Regions from separate parts of the Homo sapiens genome. Here all the other regions are linked to region 3. The links are contacts of gene promoters, found by promoter capture Hi-C in blood cells and fetal thymus (Javierre and others, 2016). All regions are on one chromosome and are shown on one strand. The core of a region is centred on a gene start or on the middle of the fragment in contact, and the rest is flanking DNA. Distances in the headings are between cores, read along the strand shown. Region 1 overlaps FER1L5 (fer-1 like family member 5). Region 2 has its middle 5.9 kb from the start of LMAN2L. Region 3 holds the start of DUSP2 (dual specificity phosphatase 2).

What was found. Contacts are between HindIII fragments. The CHiCAGO score rates a contact against its expected background, and 5 or more counts as called.
Region 1: a contact is called between a fragment that was not itself captured here and the fragment with the promoter of DUSP2 in region 3, in 1 of 17 cell types (monocytes). The highest score is 5.7, in monocytes.
Region 2: a contact is called between a fragment that was not itself captured here and the fragment with the promoter of DUSP2 in region 3, in 2 of 17 cell types (total B cells and monocytes). The highest score is 6.4, in total B cells.

Annotation. Positions count from the first base shown.
Region 1 is chr2:96,660,713-96,664,941 of GRCh38, forward strand. FER1L5 (fer-1 like family member 5) reads left to right here. Exons shown (of 53, transcript NM_001293083.2): 11 at 613-728; 12 at 956-1,079; 13 at 1,503-1,555; 14 at 2,727-2,795. Among named protein-coding and RNA genes, the nearest start is that of FER1L5, 20 kb to the left of the region's middle. RefSeq lists enhancers at 351-851, 852-1,352. The HindIII fragment of the contact is 7,223 bases long and covers 1-4,229 here.
Region 2 is chr2:96,743,966-96,747,968 of GRCh38, forward strand. No RefSeq gene overlaps it. Among named protein-coding and RNA genes, the nearest start is that of LMAN2L, 5.9 kb to the left of the region's middle. The HindIII fragment of the contact is 2,172 bases long and covers 1,065-3,236 here.
Region 3 is chr2:96,142,657-96,146,846 of GRCh38, forward strand. DUSP2 (dual specificity phosphatase 2) reads right to left here and starts at 2,784. Exons shown (of 4, transcript NM_004418.4): 1 at 2,311-2,784; 2 at 2,105-2,226; 3 at 1,498-1,717; 4 at 513-1,381. The coding sequence starts at 2,698. The coding sequence ends at 1,167. RefSeq lists enhancers at 1-3, 1,714-1,763, 2,166-2,667, 3,464-4,190 and a silencer at 2,394-3,153. The HindIII fragment of the contact is 7,151 bases long and covers 1-3,554 here.

The DNA.
Region 1 (4,229 bases), core at 1,445-3,944, 520 kb after region 3:
CCCAGCTAATTTTTTATTTTTAGTAGAGATGGGGTTTCACCATGTTAGCCAGGCTGGTCTCGAACTCTTGACCTCAGGTGATCCACCCGCTTCAGCTTCCCAAAGTGCTGGGATTATAGGCATGAGCCACCACACCTGGCCTATTTTAATTTATAGTAATAGCATTTTTCTCTGAAAAACTCAGGGCATCCCTTTGGGTCAAGTGCTAGCCTTATATTACAATCCTGGGTTAGATTTCTATTTTTTGAGGCCAGTATTGGAAGATTAAAGTTTGAGAGGAAATTTCCACCTTACCTGGCTATAACATACACTAGGTTGAGGAAAATGCTTGCCTCTACAGTGCCTGGTTCCAGACCAGGCCACAGTGAGAACAGTAGGTTCCCAAGGCATAAACAGGGGTCCCTGTTTCCTAGAGGCAACAGCTGGCAGCCTTGTGAGCACGCTATCATTGCTTCGTGGTACGAGTGACTCCCCTTTTCCTCTGCCACTGGATAGAAAGCAGGATGCCTGAGACCTATTTCCACCTTCCCCTCCTGCTAAAACAAAGGCTGGTTTCAGGGGAGAAGGAAGGAGGCTGCAGGCAGATCTCCCATGGCCTTTCTGCCTCTCTAGGTCACACACTCCTAAGGAAATGGCTAGGCCTCTGCCAGCCAAATAACCCTGGCAGTGGTGTGACAGGCTACCTGAAAGTCACCATCTATGCCCTCGGTGTGGGAGACCAGGCCCTGGTGAGCTGCCCCTAACCCCGGAAACTTTCCTATCCTGGCTGCCTCCTGGGGGCACCCCTGGGCCTCACCCTGGATATTGACCATCACATCTCTCCTTTGTCCGCTGCGTCACTGCAGGGTTGTCCCATCCCCCCTGCACCAAGTGGGAAGTTGGAGAAGCAAAGTCTGGTGTCCTTGCCTGTGACCTCCCCATTACCTTGACTATATCAGCTCTCTGGTCTCTCCAGATAGATCAAAAGCTGCTCTATGGCACCGATGACACCGATATTCAGATCTTCAAGTCAGCGGTAGTCCCGATCAACATGGCTTACTTACAGCTCTTCATCTACTGCGCAGAGGACCTTCACCTCAGTTAGAGTCTGGGTGCAGGGGAGGGAGCAGCCCTGAGATTCCCTACACGGTGATACCCTGGATCCTCATGGAGTTTCCTCATTCCTTTTGGCACTAAACTACTGTTTGGGGTAGGGGGGACAGGGTGAGACTGGAATTGCTCCCAGACTTGTCCTGTGGAGGTGCCATGGACACCCTTTCAAACGGGTCTCACACCCCCAGCCTGTCTATGATGGCCAGATGCAAACTCAAGGCTCCCTATGTCCCCCCACCCCATGCCATTGTGTGGAAGAAGAAGGGGCATGGTGGGAACTGGAGACAGGTCTGCCCAGGGGGCACCCCTCTAAATTATAGGGGAGGGTTTTCAGTTGTTCTGTCGCCACCCTATTTCCTCCTCCTGAAAAATGCTGCTGGCTCAGATATCTTTTAACTTGTTGTTCATAGAGAAACACCAGTCAGTGAATCCTCAGTTGGAGGTGGAACTAATTGGGGAAAAGGTAAGTGTAGAAATATTCTGAGACCCAGAGAGATTGGCATCTAGAGAAAGTAGTTTGGAGAGGAGGGTGGCCTGGTGGGCAAGACCACAGGAATCATCTCCCAGTCACCCACTGAGAGAAGTATGCACCCCTGCACCTGGAACTCTGTGCAGGCGGAGGCCACGTCTTATTCTCTGCATGCCAGATGCCCCCCAAAAACCAAATACACGTGGAAGAATGAGTGCGTGAATGAAACATGCCAATGAGTGAACACCATCGAAACTGTCGCCACCCCTCAGTTTCTTCATGTGTAAACGAAGGTTCTGGGCAAGAGAGTTGCTGACATTCCATGAACCTCTATGAATACGGAATAGCATTTTCCAAAGTGTGCTGATGGGTGTCATGGGTAAAAAAGGGTCCTATGTTCAAATTCGGACAATGCTAGGTTACAGTTAAACAGATATTTTCCATATTTGCCAAGCAGAATTTCTACCATATTCTATTTGTTGCAAGCAAGTCGTTAAATCCAGCCCACACATAAGCGGAGAGAAAATAATGTCTATCTTTTGAAGGGAGGAGTACCAAAGAATTTGTGAACATATTTAAAACCACCATACTGAGTATTTCCCAGTGAGTGGTTGGGTACCCCCAAAGCTAGGTGAAACGTTCTCAGGTGGTAAGTGACACGCAGTTCTCAAAAATTTTGATACTTCTGTGTTCATCTTAGTGTACCTTAAAAAGTTTAATAAGGCCAAGTAACACTTGATTCCACAGATACCACTGCTTACACATAAACTCAACTGACGGTTTTAAAACAGGCATGCTGCTGCCATTAGCTGTGTTTTTGCCCATTTTTCTTTTGGGATCTCAGAATTTATCTAGCAAAATATATGTCTATACACTCATATAGTAAGGTCAGTAGCCTTATATCTATTTAAAAATGAAGTCTATTGAAAGCTGACTTAAGGAAAAATATGAGGAATCTGAATCTGGCAAACACCTCGGGTAAGTACACAAAGGACTGGCGCTGTTGCTGCTGAGAAGTTGTGCAGGTGTCTTGAGAGCAGGGATTAGCCCAAGCACCTCTGTGCTGTGGTGTCCACTGGGAGGCTGGACAGGAAGAGCTGGAAGGTGAGGTCAGTGGAGGGAGGAGGGGGCAGGCTGGCACCAACACTGCTTTGGGACATTCCAGCTCAGGACACACATGCAGACCCAAACCGACAACCCGATATGGAACCAGATCCTGACCTTCCGGATTCAGGTATGGCTCCTCCATCATGCCCACCCTTCTCCCACATCCCCTAACATAGAAGGGAAGTTTGGATGATTGTGTGGGGGTGAAGACAGAGGGTGGGGGCCAAAAAGCATGGCAAGGGGGACTCTGCCTGATAGGGAGCATGAGGAAGCCCAGGACATATTATGGAAAACTTTACCTTTTACAGCTTACTGAGTTATCATTGACGTACCTATGTCAATGGTATGTATGACTTGTAGATATTTAAAATGTACAATTTGGCTGGGCACGGTGGCTTACACCTGTAATCCCAGCACTTTCGGAGGCTGACGTGGGCAGATCACTTGAGCTCCAGAGTTTGAGACCAGCCTGGACAACAGTGGCGAAACCAGACTCTACTAAAAAGATAAAAATTAGTCGGGCGTGGTGACATGCGCCTGTAGTTCCAGCTACTCGGGAGGGTGAGGCAGGAGAGTTGCTTGAACCCCGGAGGTGGAAGTTGCAGTGAGCTGAGCCGAGGTAGTATCACCTACTTATTTGAGCAAACACTTCAGCTAAGTAGGTGATAACAACCTGTTGCCCAAGCCAAGCCACTGCACTCCAGCCTGCACAACAGAGGGAGACTCAGTCTCAGGAAAATATAAAAGAAAAAAGAAAAGAGAGAGAGAGAGAGGAAGGAGAGAGGGAGGGAAGGAGGGATGGAAGGGGAGGGAAGGAAGGAAGGAAGAAAGGAAATGTACAATTTGATACATTTTAAAATATGTACACATCCAGGAAACCCATCATACAATCAACATAATGAATATATCTATCACCTCCAAAAGTTGCCTAATGCCTCTTGGGAATCCCTCCCTGTGATTCCTATTCCACCCCCTCCCATCCCCAGGCAACCAACAATCTGCTTTCTGTTACTACGTATTAGCTTGCATTTCCTAGTGTTTCATAGAAATGGAATCGTTCAGTAAGTACCCTTATTTGTCTGACTTCTTTCACTCAGCATAATTATTGTGAAATTCATTCATGCCATTGCTGTGTATCAGTGGTTTATTCCTTTTTGTTGCTAAGTAATATTCCATTGTATGGATGTACCACAGTTTGCTTATCCCTTTCCTTGTTTATGAACATTTCCGGTTTGGGGCTGTTACAATGAAGCTGTAAACACTTGTGTACAACCCTTAGCATAGACATATGCTTTCATTTCTCTTAGGTAAATATGTAGATGCAGAATGACTAGATTCTATGGTAGATGTATTAAGCAATGAGTGGGTCATACAACTGAACTTTCCAGAGAACTTAAATGTGCCCTTTCACCCACATATAAAAACAAAACAAATCCCTTTAAAGACACATTTTAAATGATAATATACATTTTCTTATCTTCTCAGCAACTTTGCCCTGAATATAATTAGAGCTTTTTGTTGATGGCCTGGAGCCATTATGGGAACATAGTTATTATCCTGG
Region 2 (4,003 bases), core at 901-3,400, 600 kb after region 3:
GGAGGCTGAGGCGGGTGGATCATGAGGTCAGGAGTTCGAGACCAGCCTGGCCAATATAGTGAAACCCCATCTCAACTAGAAATACAAAAATTAGCCAAGCGTGGTAGTGCACACCTGTAGTCCCAGCCACTCGGGAGGTTGAGGCAGGAGAATCGCTTGAACCCAGGAGGAAGAGGTTGCAGTGAGCCAAGATCATGCCACTGCACTCGAGCCTGAGCAACAGAGTGAGACTCCATCTCAAAAGAAAAAAAAAAGGAAAGGAAGGACAGGCGGGGCTCGGTGGCTCACACCTGCAATCCCAGCACTTTGGGAGGCCGAGGTGGGGGTGGAGGGCGGAATCATTTGAGGTCAGGAGTTCGAGACCAGCCTGGCCAACATGGTGAAACCCTGTCTCTACTAAAAATACAAAAATTAGCCAGGCATGGTGCCTGTAATCCCAGCTACTTGGAAGGCTGAGGCAGGAGAATTGCTTGAACCCAGGAGGCGGAGGTTGCAGTGAGCCGAGATCACGCCATTGCACTCCAGCCTGAGCAACAAGAGTGAAACTCCATCTCAAAGCAAAACAAAAGGAAGGAGACCTGGGGTAATCCAGGTAAACAAGGGATCTTTCGTGAGAGGAAGGATGGAGAGGGTCTTATCTGAGTCACTGAGGAAGGGTGGAAGTGGGTCTTATCTTGGGATATTCCAGAGCAGGGTAGTCCGTTAAGACAGCCATCTCTCAGCTGGGCGCAGTGGCTCATGCCTGTAATCCCAGCGCTTTGGGATGCTGAGGCGGACAGATCATATGTCAGGAGTTTAAGACCAGCCTGGCCAACAAACATGGTGAAACCCTGTCTCTACTAAAAATACATAAAAAATTTGCCGGGCATCATGGCACGTGTGTGTAATCCCAGCTACTTGGGAGGCTGAGATATGAGAATCTCTTGAGCCTGGGAGGCAGAGGTTGCAGTGAGCCAAGATCGCGCCACTATACTCCAGCCTGGACAACGGAGTCTACAAAGTGAGATGGAAGGAAGACAAAAGGATGGGGAATTTCTTTACTGTAGGTGCTTTTCAGAAGCACAAGCTTCAGCTAAGTTCAACACAGTCAAGGTGTTGAGGGGTGGTAGTGGGAAAGAGAACAAGTAGCCATGGCCCCTTCAACGCCACCTTTTACTCACACGCAGAGGCACCTCCGAAAGCTGGCTCAGGTCTTGCGCTACCATCCTTTCAGCTGCCTAGTGGTCCCCTTTTTCTCTGTGGAATCATCTATCTCCCACGATCTAGGGCTGCACAACTTCAGGGCCGGGGTATTCATATGCAATGTGAGTTGTGCATTCCAGCAGTTCTGCATGATTCCTCTACCTTCCTGTCTTCCAAACCAAAGAGCAGGGCTGGGCGCAGTGGCTCATGCCTGTAATTCTAGCACTTTGGGAGGATCGCTTGAGCCCAGGAGTTCAAGATCAGCCTGGGCAAGATGTTGAGACCCTGTCCCTTTTAAAAAATTAAAAACAACAACAACCAAAGAAGTACCTCCACTCAGGAGCACCTTGAAGCCTGATGCCCCTTCACCCCATGACAGAGGCTCCAGGGCAGCCTCTTGGCCTATTCTTTCCACTGCTTCTCACCCTTCTTTTACAAACCTTGCCATTCAATTCTGATCCACCCCCTCCCAGGACAGAAGCAGCCCTCCCTAGGCCAAGTACAACCATCCATCCATCCTCAGGTATCCAGTGTGTCAGGTCCATCTTCAGCCCAATAGTCACAGCTGACCGGGTCCTACCAACTGTACCTCCAGTTCCCCAGGTAGCCACTGAAGCATACAAGAGGATAGCAGCTCCAACACTAACTAGCTAGCTACTTCCCAGCGGTGACTTCTCAACATTGGACTCCTGAAAGCCACAGTCAAATATCCTGGGGTAGGTACCTTTGCCTGAGCCCTACTGCCAGACACGTGACTCAACAAGTGTAGGGATTTAGCTTTGAAGAAAAAAAAATAAAACCTGGAGAATTTAATTTTTTTTTTTGAGAGAGAGTCTCACTCTATCACCCAGTGGAGGGCAGTGGTGTGATCACAGCTCACTGCAACCTCTGCCTCCCAGGCTCAAGCCATCCTCCCACCTCAGCCTCCTGAGTAGCTGGGACCACAGGCACATGCCACCACACCCAGCTAAATTTTATATTTTTTGTAGAGACGGGGTTTCACCATGTTGGCCAGGCTGGTCTCGAACTCCTGGGTTCAAGCAATCCGCCCACTTCAGCGTCCCAAAGTACTGGGATTACAGGCGTGAGCCACCATGCCTGGCCTTTTTTTTTTTCTTTTAAGAGATGGGGTCTTGTTCTGTCACCCAGGCTAGAGTGCAGTGGTGTGAACTGCAGCCTCAAACTCCTGGGCTCAAGGGATTCTCCTGGCTCAAACTCCTGGGCTCAAGGGATCCTCCTGCCTTAGCCTTCTGAGTAGTTGGAATACAGTCAGGTGTCACCATGCCTGGCTATTATTTTATTTTTTGTAGAGATAATGTCTTGCTATTTGCCCAGGCTGGTCTTGAACTCCCGGGCTCGAGGCATCCTACTACCTTGGCCCTCGAAAGTGTTGGAATTATAGGCATGAGCCATCGTGCCCACCCCACCCTCCACCAGAGAATTTAATACGCAGCCCAGTTTTCAGAACTACAGCCCTTTCACATGCAGTATCTCATTTTGACCTCACAATGACTTGTTGTGGTAATCTTTAAGATTAGGACAGGCTGGGCTCAGTGGCTCACACCTGCAGTACGAGCACTTTGGAGGCCGAGGCAGGAGGATCACTTGAATTCAGGAGTTTGACACCAGCCTGGGCAACATAGTAAGACCCCGTCTCTAAAAAATACAAAAAATACAAAAAATTGTCTGGGTGTGCTAGTGTGCGCCGGTAGGCCCAGCTACTTGGGAGGCTGCGACATTTTACCCCGGGGGTCAAGGCTGTAGTGAGCCATGATCAGGCCACTCCACTCCAGCCTGGGTGACAGAGAAAGACCCTATCTCTTAAAAAAAAAAAATGACAAGAACAGTTCATAGAGGCTCCAACTCCTGAATTTAAAGATAAGAATTAAAGATTTGCTTTAAGATACTCTAGAGGAATATCGTGTGTGTGTGTTTAGAAGGGTAGGATGGATAAACAAAAAAAGCATCAGGATGTTGAGAACTGCTGCAGCTGAGATAGGGGTGCACAACACTCCCTCCAGCTTCATGGATGTGTGAGAGTTGCCGTAAGGAAAAGCTTCTCAAAGTCTCCCGTGGAGATGATGAGGAAATATGCTGGGTATGCATTTGTGGTGTTTTCTAAATTTCCCTGAGGGAAGGAAAACTGTAATTAACTATAATCTAGTAAAGTTCATTGTGACCCATCCAATATAATGTTGTCATAACTAAAGAGAGAGGCGTCTGCAATCTAGAAAAAGAACAGTCAAGGGATGAAAATAAGTCAGAGTTGTATCAGTTCTGTCCAGGAAAGAGAGTGCTTCTAAGCAGCCTGTGTTAGATCTCCATATAACTTTATTCAAATAAAGCCTATTTTCTGAGCGTATTTATAAAGACTTCCAGCCTAACGTTCTAATCCTCTTAGCAGTTTAATTTTTCTGTATAAATTAAGAAATTAGTGTGTATTTGGGTTTATCACTTAGTTATTAGTTTAGCCAGAGTGACTTAGCCCTCCCAGTCTGTTTATTTGCAGGGGAATTGATAAAAACCAGTATCCTGAGGACCAGATCTCAGATCTATGGTGGCTCTCCTTGCAGTGGCAGAGCTCCCACAATTCAGCAATGCCTCTGGGGATCCAGATGCTTGCTTCCCACAGAGTTAGGGCATAAGATTCGCCAAGGATCGTAGAATGGGGTGTGGTGAAGGAGGAGAACTCTGGCATATCTGATTGGAGTTGGAATGAAACTTCTGCCTTTTGAGACCCAGCTGTACTGTATGATCTCAGGAAAATTACGTAATCTCTCTGAGTCTCAGATCTTCTGTCTGTAAAATGAGTGTGATGAAA
Region 3 (4,190 bases), core at 1,534-4,033:
GTGAGCCCCAGCCCTGGGATGTGGGAGAAGAGTAGGGAGGCCATGCAGGCCTGCTGTGAGGAAGTAGAGACCCACACGGCCTGGGAAGTGCCTCTTGTGTGGGCGTGCACACACGCTCCCACAGGAACACCATGCGCAACATGCAGGTGTGCATGGGCCAAGACCACCCACCCCCACAGGACCACACCCTCAGGCACACACTCGCATCCTTCCACATTCCGAAAAGGAAGCGGGGTCTGATCGGGGCAGCACTGGGCCTGGCTCTGAGTCACGGACGGGACCCAGCCTCCCAGAAACAACCCTGTTCAGCTCTGGAGCGAGGTCCCTGTCTGGGAAAAGACGCCAGCCCAGGGAGAACTGGGGCCAAGAGAGCAGCCTTTGTGGGGAGGGTCAGACCTGCCCCTTCCGGCCGCTGGCCCCTCTGCCCATTCACTTCCCAAACCCCAAGGGCACAAGGAAACGTGAGGTCCAAGCAGGCTCCCGGGTATCAGATGAGACCAGATGCTGGGTTGTTGTTTTTTAAATATAACAATATTTTATTGACATATCCTGAATGTTCTGTATAAATATAAAGTGCTAAGTTTCCAACCCCTGCCCACAGGGCTAGGAGGAAGCGGGGGAGGGAGTGTTAAATGTCAGCTGAGCACAAATAATTTTCCAGCGCCAGCACAGGTGTGAAAGGCTCACAGACAGACACACGCAACATGACACACCCATCACTTCCCAAGTCCCCAGCTTCCCCAGGAACACAGGGCTTGGGCTCCAGGCCCTGGGCAGACGAACCCACAGACAGGGCTCCTGGTTGTCACAGCTTGTTCCTTGGAGCTCTCAGGCTGCCAAGGGCTTCAACATGGTGGTGGACCAGGGAGAGTCCACGGTATAGCGTCTAGCTGATTTCTGCCAGAGGATGGGGAGGGAAAGAGCAGACACACCCTTGGTTCCCGACCCCGAATGAGGGCCAGCCTCAGTCCCCCAGCAGAAGAGCACCAGGTCGGAAAGACCAGCATGCCGGCATTCCTAGAGCCCCCATGTGGGGGCTTCTGAAACTCTGAGGAGGTAGCAGCCCTGCCAGAGGTGAGGGGACTGTGCTGGCCCAGAGGGGAGCCCACCAGTCCACAGTCAGCTCCTGCCAGCACAGTGGGGCAGGCAGGCAGAGGGGCACCACCTCAGTGACACAGCACCTGGGTCTCAAACTGCAGCAGCTGCCCCATGAAACTGAAGTTGGGGGAGATGACCCCCCGGCGCTGCTTAACGAAGTCAAAGGCCTCGTCCAGCCGCACACGGCGACTCTGCATGAGGTATGCCAGACAGATGGTGGCAGAGCGCGAGATACCCGCCTGGCAGTGCACCAGCACCCGGCCTCCGCTGTTCTTCACCCAGTCTGCAAGGGAGATGGGGGAGTGGTGTCAGACGGAATGTGCACAGCCCAGGAGACAGGTGCCCCCAGTCCTCTCCTCTGGAGCCCCTCGGGATTTCTGGGCAGAGGTGCCCCCTTACCAATGAAGCCTATGGCCTCCTGGAACCAGGCACTGATCTCCACCATCTGGTTGTCCTCCACAGGGATACTCTTGTAGCGGAAAAGGCCCTCAAAGTGGTTGGGGCAGCTGGCGGACACGTTGAGGACGGCTGTGATGCCACAGGCCTGCAGCCCCTGCAGGTCTGACGAGTGACTGCAGCTGCCCAGGAACAGGTAGGGCAAGATCTCCACAGGGCCACCCTGGAGGGAACAGAGGGGCGGTGAGGCCTTTCCAGCCCAGCCCCGGAGAGCTGGAGCAGCAGCGGGTGGAGACCCCATGGGCTGGCCGAGACAAGAGGACTCCTCAGCCAGTCCTCCTGACCTGAGACAGGTCTCAGGAATGTGCGGAGGACACACCGGGACATACATTTCCCTTCATGCTCCCAACATACACATGCAAACATACACAGACCCATACAGGCACGCGCGAGCAGCCATGCCCCACCCCCTCCCCCAACACACACACGTATAAAAGTGTGTGTATATGGGCAAACTGCTCGCATCCCCAAATGGCAGGCTCTTTCCCTAGAGGCGCCCAGTCCGCGGCGGGGAGAGAGGGAGGTTCGGGGGAGGGGGGTCAATACTCACCTGGTCGTAGACAGGAGCCCTGGAGTCGGAGCGGCTGGTTTTGTCCCCTGTTGGCGGCAGCGCAGGGGCGGGGGCCTCAGAGCACAGATCGGGACAGCAGCCCTGGAAGCCGTCGAAGCCTCCTGCAAGGAGGGGAAGAGCACGATCAGCAGGGAAAGCCGGGCTGGAGTCGGGTGGGGCGGGCCAAGGGCGGCCGGCTTGCTCACCTCGCAGGAAGTACACGGCAGTGGGCCCCGCGCGGGTCTCGTGCAGCAGCGCGGCCAGCAGCACATGAGCCGGGCTGTCGGGCCGGAGCTCCGCCACCGAGGCACTGCCCTCGTCCAGCACCACGGCCCGCGCCAGCTCCCCGCGGACCAGGCGCGTCCGCAGCGCGCGGTCGGGCAGCAGGCAGGCGAGAACGGCGGCAGGAGGGCCGCGCGCGCGGCGCCGCAGCAGCGCGTTCCAAGGCACTGGCCGCGCGGCGCGCACGTGGCGCCGGCAGAAGGCCAGGAAGGGGCGGCAGTCCAGCAGCAGCGTGCGTTCCGCCTCCCGCGGATCCCGCAGCAGCGTGCCCAGCGCCGCGCACTCCAGCTCGCGCGCCGCCTCCAGCCCCATGGCCACCGGTGCCTCTTCCTCTTCCTTTCGGTCTTTCCCGCGTCCCGGGCTCTCGTGGCGGTGGCGCTGCCCGAGCGGTCGACTCCGGGCGCCCTCCGCGGCGGCCCGGGTTAAGTACCCGTGGGCCGGCCTCCGGGGCACCATACAAGGGCAGAGCAGGAAGGCGCTGGCGCCCGCGCCCGCCCCCGCCCCTCACGTGGGGCGCAGTCTGGGCTGACCTGGAGACTTCGGGGCGGGGGGGAGGTTGAGGGGGAAGGCAGGGCGCGGGGACCAACACACCGGGAGGAGGCGGGGACCAGCGACTAAGGGAAGGGAAGGTGTTACCCGGAGTCGGAGGGACTAGCACCCCTCCGTTTTTGCGCCCACCCTTTGACCTGTCCCAAGCCACTCAGTCCTGGGGAACCCAGCTTCTCAGATGCAGGTCCCCCTTTAGGGCCAACGATGACCCTTGGAGTACCCCACCCCCTAACCCCACGCTTCCTCTGCCTTTTCCCTTTCCCTCCCAGAATTTTCCTCTTAGAAATTTGTCACCACAAACATTGACAAATGCCTGCTGCCACGGGTGATTTCTACACTGGATGATGGGGGGGGTCCCTGCTGAGATGTCCTATTTCTCATCTATTTGGAGACCTTGAGCCAGAGGGACTTTCTCTCTCCTCCCCCTCCCCACCCCCCATTGCCTGGATAAGACCAGTACTCAGGGTCTTGCAGTAGGTTGGTGGCCAAGCTAGGCCAGAACACAGTCCCCGGGGCCCAGGCCCCTGGGCTTGGGCCGAAGGGAAATGAGGGGGGGTCCCAGGGCCTTTCATGGGGAAAGCAGGGGTCTGTGACTGGTTTCCAGTTATGTGTAGGGCAAAGCTTCTTCCTCCTGGGTGCAGGGAAAGCCCCCAGGCCCCAGAGAGAAGTACTTCCCCCTGCCACAAGCCCGCCCTGGAGGGAAGTCCGCTGACGCTCCCGGCCCTCCCCAGGCCTGCGGGGATTTCAAGACCTTGGCAAGGGGAAGAGGGAGAAGCAGAACAGAACTGGCCTCCCCCATCCTAGGCCTCCCTGTCCAGCCCCGCCGGGCAGCAAAGTCCAGGGCTAGCACTGCACCCGGAGGACTGGGGGCCTGGGTATCCCCTCCATTCCGCCCTCCCCCAGCCCTGCTGCCGGATGTGGTGAGGCCCAGGTGTGCGTGGGGTGTCTGAGCCACAAGAATTGTTGGCAGTGAACTCCCAAACTCAAGCAGAGAAGTTGAGGTGGGTGGAGACAGCGTCACTGCGCTGGAGCTGCCCTCGCCCTGCCCCCAGCTGCGTGGGATTTCAGAACCCACCCTCCAAGCCCCCAGTCTCCTGAGGCCCTCCTCCGTGCCCTCTGAAAGACCCTTCCGGCTCCCCCACAGACCCCTGTGTCCAGACCGTCTTGAAGAGTGACAGCTGGGACCTGTGGAGAGCCCGCAGCCCTTCTGGACTTGTCTGCCCTGAGTTCCTCACAGCAGTGTGCTGTATGCCTG